Linked DNA regions of Homo sapiens: region 2 is linked to region 1. Evidence: promoter capture Hi-C in 16 types of primary human blood cells and fetal thymus (Javierre and others, 2016). All regions are on one chromosome and are shown on one strand. Each heading gives the region's core, a stretch centred on a gene start or on the middle of the fragment in contact. The rest is flanking DNA. Distances are from core to core; before and after follow the strand shown.

Region 1 (6,428 bases), core at 2,637-5,136:
CAAAGTGCTGGGATTACAGGCATGAGCCACAGCACCCGGGCCCAATCTATATTTCATTTCAAATTTTAACTGAAAGAACCAAAATGCTCTCCACCCTGCAGGCAGTCACTCACTATCTACCTGAAGTGCTGCAGCAGACACACATGGCTGTGATGACAAATGCCTGATGTCCCTCTCCAGCTTCCTCCTGGGCAAGTGATCAAGGACTCCACAATCATCTGCAGGTCTAGCTGCTGTCCCCATACTCCAACAAAATGACTCAGAGTTTCATCATTTCTTATTGCACAATTTAATGACCATATCGCCACCTCTGGTCTGGTAGCTTCATTAAACAGGGCAGATGACCTCCTCTTTGAAAGTGGGCCCTCCCTTGGCTCCTAAGACATCACCTTCTCTCCACCTCCTCTATTTTCATCGCGTCCCTAACATTCCTCCAGGACTGAGTCATTGGTCTTATGCTCTTTTTTTAAAATAAAAGTAATAATAAATATGTTTCCCATGTCCAGAATTTCCCATTTTCTCCTCGCTGCTTTCTGGCATCCTGTCATCTTTAAAGGCCCAATTAGGTGCCACCTTCCTCCAGAAACCCTCTAACTGCTGATCCCCCTCTCATCTTTTTCATGTGCCTGGAACACTTAAAAGCCAAAGGTGCTTTCACTATTTAGCACTTCATATATTCTGCTTTGTGGCGTCCCTTGTTATTTTATAAATTACTCTTACCTCTTCAACCAAAGAAAAGCTCCTTAATAAAGACAAGACCCATGCCTTGAAATGATCCCATGTCCTCATGATGCCTCACTGGGTGTTGAGCATTTTGTCAGTGGTCAGTAAGCACTTGCTGGTCGAGATTAAGGCAATGCTAGGCCGGACCTGGTGGCTCATGCCTGTAATCCTAGCACTTTGGGAGGCTGAGGCAGGTGGATCACTTGAGGTCAGGAGTTCAAGACCAGCCTGGCCAATACGGTGAAACCTCATCTCTACTAAAAATACAAAAATTAGCTGGGTGTGGTGGCACACACCTGTAATCCCAGCTATTCGGGAGGCTGAGGCAGGAGGATTGCTTGAACCAGGGAGGTATAGGTTGCAGTGAGCTGAGATCATGCCATTGTACTCCAGCCTGGGCAACAAAGCGAGACTCCATCTCAAAAAAAAAAAAAAAAAAAGAAAGAGAGAGGTTAAGGCAATGCTGCAATGTCTTGAAAAAATAAGTATAAAGAAGAAAACTGGGCCAGGCATGGTGGCTCATGCCTGTAATCCCAACACTTTGGGAGGCCGAGGCAGGCAGATCACAAGGTAAAAAGTTTGAGACCAGCCTGGCCAATATGGTGGCCCCATCTCTACTAAGAATACAAAAATTAGCCAAGCATGGTGATGGACGCCTGTAATCCCAGCTACTCGGGAGGCTGAGGCAGGAGAATTGCTTGAACCTGGGAGGTGGAGGTTGCAGTGAGCCGAGATCATGCCACTGCACTCCAGCCTGGGTGACAGAGCAAGACTCCATCTCAAAAAAAAAAAAAAGAAGAAGAAGAAGAAATCCTCTGAAATTCCCTTTCCCTCCTCCTAATTCTCAAGGGGTGAAATCTGGGCAAGTCATCCTGCTCTAGAGCTGTGAAAAATCAAATCGTCCTTCCTGCACCAGTGTGGTGGTGTGGAAAGAGCATGGGATTTGTGTTCATTTGGCCAGGTTCAGCTCTGATCTTGCCAGTGGTTGATCTTGAACTTGGAAAAGTCACTGGAATCCTCATCCTTCATTTCCTCAAAAGCAAAATTGAGGTAACAACTCAAAGGCTTTCTGGAGCTGGATGCTGTAATCCACAAGAGTGGCATTTCTGGTGGGAATTTCGGGCACTATGGTAGGGCAGGAGAGAAGCTATCTGCAGGCCTTCTGGAAGCTCTCCAGTGCATGTCCCCACTGGGGTGGGGGCTGACTGTCTCCACGTGGGGTTAGTCCTGCAGAACAGGCAGGTAGAGTAGAGTCTGAGGGCATGAGGAAAGGCAGTCTACTGGAGAGGGCACAGAGAGTTCAACAAACACTGAAACTTAAGTTTGTCCTGGACATCTTCAGCATCCGACTTTCTGGTGGAAAGCTTAAAGTATAAATGACTGTGCCCTCTCAAAAGGGCACAGAAGTAAAACTGGGAGGATTTTGGGAGGGGACTGGATGTGGGGTGAAAGGTATGGTGAGAGCAGAGAAGAGGGGCCTGAGCCTGGGGTCAGGGGAAAGTAGGCTAAACAATTCACAGGATGCAGACATTTCAGAGAAGGGTGACACATCACTTGGCCCTGAACAACAACTATAAGCCAGACAGTCCAAAGAGACATAGTTCCAAAGGAACATAAAGTGACATGGCTTGTTATGTGTCCCCAGAGACATGGATGTGCTTTTGGAACTTGAAGGATAATTAAAAAAACATCAGACCCACCAGGGCTGCTGCAAACATGACAGTTCCCTTCCCAACACGTCATGGCAGCTGCTGCAGCTCCCTTCCCTCTATCCTGAGGCTAGCCACAGATGGGCCAGCAGCCCACCCCCAGAGCAGACCAAGCAGAGAGGTGCTCCCAGGAGTTACCAGGTTCCACTCTCGGAACCATCTTAAAATCCTGTTCTGGGAAATCCAGCAGCACCATGTTATATGCATTAGAGGGAGACTGTTTAAATCCCTTGCCAAGGTTCCCAAGGCTTCGTGCTGCATCTGTTTGCGTGTAGCCAGGGAGTGCAGCTAGCATTCTCCTCTCCTTGCTTCTCCATGTAGCCAGTGGCACCTCCTCAGGGTCAACAAACAAGAAATAAAAGCAGAAAACCACACTTTCTGAGTCCACCTGCCATCTGAACCCCCCAAACCCTAGTTTAACCTCTCCCATTCATTCATTCATTCATTCAATAAATATATAGGTACTGAGAAGCTATTGTGCACTGAGCCCTGAGCCAGTACTAATTGAGGGAAGAAATGGGCAACATAGCTTCAAAAGCACAGCTCTGTCTTTCTGCCTGAGGCAGCAGAGAGTGGATACCCAAGGCTGTCCCTACTCTCTCCCTGCTCAGGACCCTGATCAGAGGGTCTGTGGGAATTGGGTCAGGGTGCAGGAAAGAAGATGTTGAGTCAGATATGTCTATGTCAGTGATCTTGCCTATCAGTAAAGGTTGCTCAGCCCCCAAAGCAGCGTGATGGTGAACCTTTGGCTCCTGCCAGCGGTACTCATTATCCTTCCAACAGCCCCATGCTCAATCATACCATCATTCTGATGCTTCATGAGAACTGAGGCTTGGATATCTTCGCCTACTTGCTTGTGTCTCACAGGCAGCGAATGGCAAAGCCTGTAGCCAAGTCACACTGTCTGCCTTCTGCTGGGAGCCTTGGATTGATGGGTGACTCCATGGACATTTGTTGACCTAAAAAGTAGGTGTTTGAGGAACTGAAAGATCTCCAGCAAAGAACGTTTAGAAAGAAAATATTGCCTATCTGCCCACCTAGATGAACCCTACTGAAATGGATTGATTTTAGCGATGAGAAATTTTGTTTACTATACTGCAGGGTTTCCGTTAACCCTCGAAGTTATGGTCAGATAGGGTGACCTAGCCAGAACCTACCCCAAGGACTCCTTCCCTGGCTAGCAGCTACAGGGATGTGGCACCATTATCCCAACCAGCCTGGGGAGAGCCTTAGTAAGAGTTCAGATCATTATTCAGCAGGACATGTCCAGGATCCCAGTGGCTGGAACTTCAGCAGGGCTCAGGGTCTTAGAGTTGTGACCTAAAAGTGTTGTGAGAACAAAATCCTGGAGGAGTTTCAGTCCCTACCTGAACCCACAGCCGTCCAGATCCCTGTCCTGGATGTGTGGGAGGGGGCGCATGCTGGGCTCCAGGCCAACCCTGCAAATACTCCACTTGCCCCGTCTCTGCATTGATTAATCCAGCTTTGAGAGGCTGAGCCTCTCAATGAATCAGGTCCTTGCTCAGCCATAAGAAGAAGGTGATTGGCCAGGTCTGCCAGGGCTTTGTGACCCGCTGGCTTGCTCCCCAGCCCCTCAGAACCCCTCAGCCCCACCTGCACATACTGCCTCCATGCAAGCCCAGAATAACCTGGATGTGTGACTCACAGGGGTAGGGGTAGCAATTTTGCAGATTTTCCAAACAGGTGACTTCAGCCCCCGGGCCTGGGCAGGAAGGGGTAGCCCAGTGACAATGGGCATAGTCCCACTTCAGGAACGGGAAACGTGTTGGCTGGCTCTGTGGAGTTCTCTCTCTTCTGATCCCACAGCATCTGTTCCAGTTGTCTTGGCCGGTAGGATGGCGTCTACAAAGCAGGCTATATGGGAAATCTGGAGCTGGGGAGGGATTGTGGTCAGAGCCCAGCTTTGGGAAGCCCATGTGGCTGTCTCAAGGCAAAGCAGCAGAGAAAAGTTCTGTAGTCTGTCTCCTTTCTGGACTGGCATTTCCATGGTCTGAGACCAGAGGCTGGCTGTGTGTCAGGCACCTACTCCTCGAACAAATGCCCTTAGATTCTCACTGTCTGTCCCCGCGATGCTGACAGCACTTGCCAAATACATACTGAATGTCAGGCTCTGTGCTCAGCACTGTGTACACATGGCTCACTTAATCCTCATAACTGTTCTGTGAGGTGGGAGCTGTCACTGTCCTCACTTTATAGATGAGGACACTGAGACCTAAAGTCAAGTCAGACAGCTAGGACATGGTACAACTAGGATTTGAACCCACCTGATGTGCCTGGAGATCTAGTGTTCTTAAGCACTACCTTTCTGGAGCTTGCTGGAGGCATGCTGGCCACCTCCTTCAGGACTGGTAGACCTGGTGTGTCTTTCATAGCCACGCTGGGCAGAGGGTGGAGGCCTGGAAACTGCAGGGGGTTCTTCCAGGGACCAGCCAGAACAGGGCTAAACTTGGGGTAAAAAGAGCTCTAGAGAATTAGAGAAGACTGAGGGCCCCTAAATTACCCTTAAGACATATTTGTGGAAGACAGATTTAAAAACAAAAAGCCAAAATTAGATTTAGGCTGGTGATAAGGTCATTAAATAATAGAATGTGAAATTTCAGTTGTGCAGACTTATTGGCCATCTTTATGATTTAAGAATATAAGTGCCTAGATCTAAGTGCAGTCCTAATCGCCTGGGAAGGAAGCAGATGGTCTCTAGAAACCCTTCTGACCATGGGTTAGTGGGATTTGGTCTTGATGACCATTTTTAAGGCCTCAGTCTGCAGAATGACCAGCAGCTTCCCCTCCCGCAATGAGAGCTGTAATTGCCTTTCCCAGTTGCCTGTGAATGCACCATGAACCTTACAGTCCTAGTATAGGAAATGACTCAGCAAAATCACCAGATTAAACCTCCTCAACTTTTCTTTCCCTTGGCTCCATTCCTGATAGCAGGAGTCGAGGCCCTTCAGAGCAGGCTTTCCCCAAAGCCACGTTGTCGGTCTGATCCTCGAATGGGGATCCGCCTGGATGATGACATGCCACAATCCAATCAGGGTCTGTTTCTCCTGACAGTCACATGTGCCAAAGATCATGGTAGAAACATGTGGATGGGGTTGGAAGACACTGCTACTACATCTCTTGGGACAGAGCCTGCCCCCTCCGAGTGGCTACCTACCATTCTCTCCGGGGAGGTGAAGGAGCTCTTGGGAACAAGTGTGTTATTATTAAGAGTTTCGTCAGGTTATGTCTTTTTTTTTTTTTTTTTTTTTAAGATGGAGTGTCGCTCTTTTGCCCAGGCTGGAGTGCAGTGGCGCTATCTTGGCTCACTGCAAGCTCCGCCTCCCGGGTTCACGCCATTCTCCTGCCTCAGCCTCCTGAGTAGCTGGGACTACAAGTGCCCGCCACTGTGCCCGGCTAATTTTTTGTATTTTTAGTAGAGACGGGGTTTCACCGTGTTAGCCAAGATGGTCTGGATCTCCTGACCTCATGATCCGCCCACCTCGGCCTCCCAAAGTGCTGGGATTACAGGCGTGAGCCACCGCGCCTGGCAGGTTATGTCTTTGCTGTAATTGGAGGCAGCTGGTCCACTTAGACCCTGATGCTTGGGCAAATACTTTATACACCTCTGCCCCCAGCAGCTGGTCTGGTGTGAGTCCAGGCCCAAGTCAACCCCCAATGCAAAAGCCAATCAGAAGTTGGACCTCTTTGGTGAGTTCAAACTGTGGTTTTAGGGGATACGGAGGCTGGCTTAGTTCAGTCCAGGATCTTAGAACAGCCCCAATGCTCCAGGCCCCTCAGCCAGCCCAGCTTTTAGAGGCTCCCAATTTGAGCTCTAAACTGAGCTCTGGAAAGGGGGTTTGGGGGATGGGGGATACATTTAAAGGAGTTTTTGCTCAGGACCTGGGTGCCACCTGCTGGCCATGTTTAGTTCTACTTACAGAGCCAAAGCTACGAGAGGAAAATTAAAAGGGCATCCTGCCCTCCCCAATGTGATGT
Region 2 (6,428 bases), core at 1,297-3,796, 220 kb before region 1:
AAACTTTCTAATAAACTTTCTAATAAAAGAGAACACTTTCTAATAAAAACTTTCTCTTTTTTGATTAAGAGAAAGTTTTCTTACTTTTGAAAATGGCTTGTTAGTAAGTGTGCTTCCTTAATTTCAGGGATGATACCGGGGACTCTCCAGAGCCATGACTAGATCCAATGGATTCTGCGATGCTGTCTGGACTTTGCTGTCTCTGAACAGTATGTGTGTGTTGCTTTAAATATTTTTCTTTTTTTTGAGAAGGAGAAGACTGCATGACTTTCCTCTGTAACAGAGGTAATATATGAGACAATCAACACCGTTCCAAAGGCCTGAAAATAATTTTCAGATAAAGAGACTCCAAGGTTGACTTTAGTTTGTGAGTTACTCATGTGACTATTTGAGGATTTTGAAAACATCAGATTTGCTGTGGTATGGGAGAAAAGGCTATGTACTTATTATTTTAGCTCTTTCTGTAATATTTACATTTTTTACCATATGTACATTTGTACTTTTATTTTACACATAAGGGAAAAAATAAGACCACTTTGAGCAGTTGCCTGGAAGGCTGGGCATTTCCATCATATAGACCTCTGCCCTTCAGAGTAGCCTCACCATTAGTGGCAGCATCATGTAACTGAGTGGACTGTGCTTGTCAACGGATGTGTAGCTTTTCAGAAACTTAATTGGGGATGAATAGAAAACCTGTAAGCTTTGATGTTCTGGTTACTTCTAGTAAATTCCTGTCAAAATCAATTCAGAAATTCTAACTTGGAGAATTTAACATTTTACTCTTGTAAATCATAGAAGATGTATCATAACAGTTCAGAATTTTAAAGTACATTTTCGATGCTTTTATGGGTATTTTTGTAGTTTCTTTGTAGAGAGATAATAAAAATCAAAATATTTAATGAAAATGGACTTACTGTTACAGCATAGAGATTATACTGTACTTTTTGTGTGTTAAAAATAAGTTCTTTATTTGTTTGCAAACAGCCACAATTTTTTTTTCTTTTTTTTTTTTTTGAGATGGAGTCTTTTTTTTTATTGATCATTCTTGGGTGTTTCTCGCAGAGGGGGATTTGGCAGGGTCATAGGACAATAGTGGAGGGAAGGTCAGCAGATAAACAAGTGAACAAAGGTCTCTGGTTTTCCGAGGCAGAGGACCCTGCGGCCTTCCGCAGTGTTTGTGTCCCTGGGTACTTGAGATTAGGGAGTGGTGATGACTCTTAATGAGCATGCTGCCTTCAAGCATCTGTTTAACAAAGCACATCTTGCACCGCCCTTAATCCATTTAACCCTGAGTGGACACAGCACATGTTTCAGAGAGCACAGGGTTGGGGGTAAGGTCACAGATCAACAGGATCCCAAGGCAGAAGAATTTTTCTTAGTACAGAACAAAATGAAAAGTTTCCCATGTCTACTTCTTTCTACACAGACACGGCAACCATCCGATTTCTCAATCTTTCCCCCACCTTTCCCCCCTTTCTATTCCACAAAACCGCCATTGTCATCATGGCCCGTTCTCAGTGAGCTGTTGGGTACACCTCCCAGATGGGGTGGTGGCTGGGCAGAGGGGCTCCTCACTTCCCAGAAGGGGTGGCCGGGCAGGGGCGCCCCTCACCTCCCGGACGGGGCGGCTGGCCGGGCGGGGGGCTGACCCCTCCTCCTCCCTCCCGGAGGGGGCGGCTGGCCGGGCAGAGGGGCTCCTCACTTCCCAGTAGGGGCGGCCGGGCAGAGGCACCCCTCACCTCCCGGACGGGGCGAACAGCCACAATTTAAACAAGATAATTAAGGGAGGTGGTTTTGCCTCTGGTGGAGTAGAGTATGACTAGATGAAAACCTTGCCCTTCTGTTGTAACTGAAAGCAATTTAAAAGATTTCCAGAGACATGGGAAGTGTCACCCAAAGATATGAGATCTGTATGTGATGAAAATGATTAGTGAGGGCAGACTACTAATAATGATGTGTCAGTCAACTGAGTTCAGAGACAGATTAAAGAGATGCACCAAGTTCTATTGTTTAATAATTTTTTTTTTCCCGAGACTCTGTCTGTCGCCCAGGCTGGAGTGCAGTAGTGCCATCTCAGCTCACTGCAAGCTCCGCCTCCTGGGTTCAAATGATTCTCCTGTCTCAGCCTCCCTAGTAGCTGGGATTACAGGCATCCACCATCATGCCTGGCTAATTTTTGTATTTTTGTAGAGACAGGGTTTCACCATGTTGGCCAGGCTGGTCTTGAACTCCTGACCTCAAGTGATCTGTGGGCCTCAGCCTCCCAAAGTGTTGGGATTACAGGCGTGAGCCACTGTGCCTGGCTGGGTTTTTGTTTTATGTATTTTTTTATTATTATTTTTTTAATTTTTAATTTAATTTTATTTTTTGTAGGGGCAAGGCTTTGCCGTGTTGCCTAAGCTGGTTTCGAACTCCTGAACTCAAGCAATCTGCTTGACTCAGTCTCCCAGAGTGCTGGGATTACAGGTGTGAGCCACCAGGCCTGGCCATATTTATTTTTGAGAGAAAGGGGGGTCTCGCTCTGTCACCCAGGCTGGAATGCAGTGGAGCAATCATAGCTCGTTGCAGCCTCAAACTCCTGGGCTCAAGCAATCCTCCCACCTCGCCCTCCCAAGTATCTTGAACTATAGATGCTCGCCACCACGCCCCTGTTTTATTTTTTTATTTTGTTTTTCCCTACTTTCAGGGTGATTTCATCAACATTCTTTTCTAACCTTTCAATTGAATTTTTTATTTCTGATTTCATGTTTTTAATATCCAATTAACTCCTTATTTTGGTAATGTTTCTTTTTTATAGTATTCCAATCAGTCAGCATTCACTTAAAAAAAAAAAACAGAAATAACTCCAGATATTTTAAGCAAAAAGGGATTTGGTGGAAGGGGTTGACTATAGTAATGTCAGGAAGGCTGGTTGAGCCAAAGAGAAGAGGATGCTGCCCAAAGATCAGGAAGCTCCCAGTGCCCACCCCCACTGCTGCTCTGCTGGAAGCATAGCCCTGCCACCATTGCATTGAACTGTACCACTGCCGCTGAGCAAAGTCAGGATCCCCAACTCTGACCATTGTATCATGCCCGGCTGGCTCTGCAATGTCATTTTGATGTGTCTTCAGTATGGATTTTTTTTTTTTTTTTTCTGAGTCAGAGTCTCGCTCTGTCACCGAGGCTGGAGTGCAGTGGTGCGATCTCCAACTTTTTCAGTTTTCTTTGATAGGAGAGTGGTCCCAATGACCTTTTCTACCATTACTGGAAGTTGAAGTTTGATGTGTCTCTTGATATTCCCATACTCATCATTACTTATTGCCATTAAAATAAAACAAAAATAACTTAAATGTATTCAACATCAAACATAACACATGCTGTCATATATAACAATCAAGACTCTCATTTGCAAGTTTGGGGACCCCAACTCAAACTGACTTAAGAGGAGAAGGTTCATATAACTGAAAAGCCCAGAGACATTTCTGGTTTCGCTACAGTCAAATCGAAGGGCTGTAACAAAGTCATGAGATTTGGTCTCTCTCTTCACCCTTTGCTGCTTCTGTTAGTGTCACTTTCAGGCAGGCCTTCAGAACCTGTAAATTTGGCATGTCACATGGCAAAGGGGAATTAAGAGTGCTAATCAGCTGACATTAAAATAGGGAGATTTAGAAGAAAAAAAGGACAAAGCAAAAAATGGGGAGAGTACCTTGGAATTTTGGGTGGGCCCAATGTAATCACAAGTGCCATTAAAAATGGAAGAGTGAGAGAGAAGTGTGTTAGAGATAGGAGTAGGAGAATGGTCAGGCAGATGCAACATTGCTGGCATTGAAGATGGAGGGAGAGATCACAGACTGACGAGTCTAGGTGGCTTCTAGCAGCGAAGAGGCAAGGAAGCGGATTTTCTTTTAGAAACTCCAGAGAAGAAAACAGGCCTGCCGATACCTTGATTTTTAGCCCAGCGAAACTTGTGTCAGACTTCTAAACTACAGAACTGTAAGAATAAATTTGTGTTTTATCTAAGCCACTGAGTTGTTGCTAATTTGTTACAGCAGCAATAGGAAACTAATACAAGTGGTTTCCCAAGGAAATTTGAGGCTTCTTAACAGGTAAGAGAGAATGTAGACAGGGCAGACAAAAATAACAGATGTCTACTATACCACATGTGGTGTTATGATAGACATTGGTTTTCGTCCACAGTTCCGGGCTCATAACTGCTATAGCCGTTGTTAGTTCTTTTGTTGTAATATTGGGTATGTGTTAGGCCTCAGGAAACAGAATCTCTCCTTCTCCTGCCCTCCTTTCACCTGCCCCAAGACAGGCCTCTAATCTTTCTCAGGCTTTCAGATTGTGGGTCTTAAGATCCTACCCAGAGAGGTTCCCTCTATACCCTGGGGGAAAGAATGCGGAGGTCCTGAAGCTTCCATAAAAACCCTTGAGGACGGTTCAGGGAGGTTCCCGATACCTGAACTCGGGGAGGTTCCTGGAGGGTGGCGCCCCCCACACCCCCCACCCCCCACGGAGGGCTTAGAAGCTCTGTGTGCATTCCCCATACCTCACCCCACGTGTCTCTTCATCTGTTTCCTTTTTTTATGTTTTTCATGCATTTTTTTTATTTTTTATTTTTCATTTTTTTTTTTTTTAGACAGAGTCTCACTCTGTCACCCAGGCTGGAGTGCAGTGGCGCGATCTTGGCTCACTGCAACCTCCGCCTCCCAGGTTCAAGCAATTCTCCTGCCTCAGCCTCCCAAGTAGCTGGGATTATAGGCGTGGGCCACTACACCCGGCTAATTTTTGTATTTTTAGTAGAGGCGGGGTTTCGCCATGTTGGCCAGGCTGGTCTTGAACTCCTGACCTCAGGTAATCCGCCTCAGCCTCCCAAAGTGCTGGGATTACAGGTGTGAGCCACCGCGCCCAGCCATCTGTATCCTTTGTAATATTTTTTGTAACAAACTGGTAAATGTGTTTCCCTGAGCTCTGTGAGCCACTCCACCAAATTAATCAAAGAGGGGGTCATGGGAACCCCAACTTGAAGCCAGTCCTAGAGGCCCAGACTTGTGACCGGTTTTGGTGGGTGGGCAGTCTTGGGGACTGAACCCTCAACGTGTGGGATCTGATGCCATCTCTGGGTAGACAGTGTCAGAAATGAATTAGAGGACACCCAGCTGGTGTCCACTGCTTGGTGTATGGGGAAATCACCTCCAACGTTTGGTCACAGAAATCTTCTGCATGGATGATTGTTGTGCTGTGAGAGTGAGGAAAAACATGGTTAGAGTTCTCCCTACATACCATATGACGCACTGTGTCACAATTACAAATTTTTAAAAGCCAGATGGCACCTACTTTTTTTTTTTTTTTTTGCCATTACTTTCAATGGCAACAACCGCAATTACTTTTGCACCAACCTAGTAATATACTTTGAGCAGCATTAGAGTTTTATTCTATTTTATATTCTTTGGATTTATTTTAATGCTGTTTACAGGAACTGAAAAGCTCCATTCTTTTTAAAAGATTTTCTAATTAAAGTATAACATACATACCAAAAACACAAATGTATACAGATTACAATTTTACAGCTCAATTAGTTTTCACAAACTGAAATCAATGCATCTCAGAATCCTGCCCCGTTCTAGTCAATACTTACTCTGCCAAGGATAATTGTTATCCTGTTGTTTTTTTATATAGACGGAGCTTTGCTCTTGTCGCCCAGGCTGGGTGGGGTGTGTGGCCCAGGCTGGGGTGCAGTGGCGCAATCTCGGCTCACTGCAACCTCTGCCTCCCGGGTTCAAGTGATTCTCCTGCCTCAGCCTCCTGAGTAGCCGAGATTACAGGCACCCACCACCACGTCTGGCTAATTTTTGTATTTTTAGTAGAGACGGGGTTTCACCATGTTGGCCAGGCTGGTCTCAAACTCCTGACCTCAGGTAATCTACCTGGTTCGGCCTCCCAAAGAGCTGGGATTACAGGCGTGAGCCACCACGCCCGGCCTATCCTGACTTTTAATACCATAGATTCATTTTGATTATTGTAGTAAGTGGAATTATAGAGCATATATTCTTTTGTGTTTTTCAGTCAACATGTTTGTGAAATTTATATTTTCTCATGTGTTTATGGTGTTAATTCTTACTGCTGCATAGGGTTTCATTGTGTGGATATGCCTAAATTTTTTTTTTTTTTTTTTAGTGAAAGCAAGTTTATTAAGAAAGTGAAAGAATAAAGCATAGCTACTCTGTAGGCAGAGCGGCCTATGCCTAAATTTGTATATTTCCATTCTATTGAACATTTGGATAGTTTCAAGTTTGGGGGTTACAAATATTGGCTACTGACTTTTGCCTCAAAAACAAAAAAAAAAGAGACTTGGAGATGCATTTTTTTGGGGGGTTTGTTTGTTTGAGACAGGATCTTACTCTGTCACCCACGCTAGAGGGCATTGGTGTGATCACAGTTCACTG

What was found. Contacts are between HindIII fragments. The CHiCAGO score rates a contact against its expected background, and 5 or more counts as called.
Region 2: a contact is called between a fragment that was not itself captured here and the fragment with the promoter of MAPRE3-AS1 in region 1, in 1 of 17 cell types (endothelial precursors). The highest score is 5.9, in endothelial precursors.

The regions. Positions count from the first base shown.
Region 1 is chr2:27,010,702-27,017,129 of GRCh38, forward strand. MAPRE3-AS1 (MAPRE3 antisense RNA 1) reads right to left here and starts at 3,887. Exons shown (of 6, transcript NR_149018.1): 1 at 3,800-3,887. The region is part of intron 1 of MAPRE3 (microtubule associated protein RP/EB family member 3); the gene reads left to right. The HindIII fragment of the contact is 5,889 bases long and covers 2,086-6,428 here.
Region 2 is chr2:26,793,685-26,800,112 of GRCh38, forward strand. It overlaps CENPA (centromere protein A), which reads left to right. Exons shown (of 5, transcript NM_001809.4): 5 at 128-905. Among named protein-coding and RNA genes, the nearest start is that of CENPA, 11 kb to the left of the region's middle. RefSeq lists a silencer at 1,023-1,223. The HindIII fragment of the contact is 3,696 bases long and covers 699-4,394 here.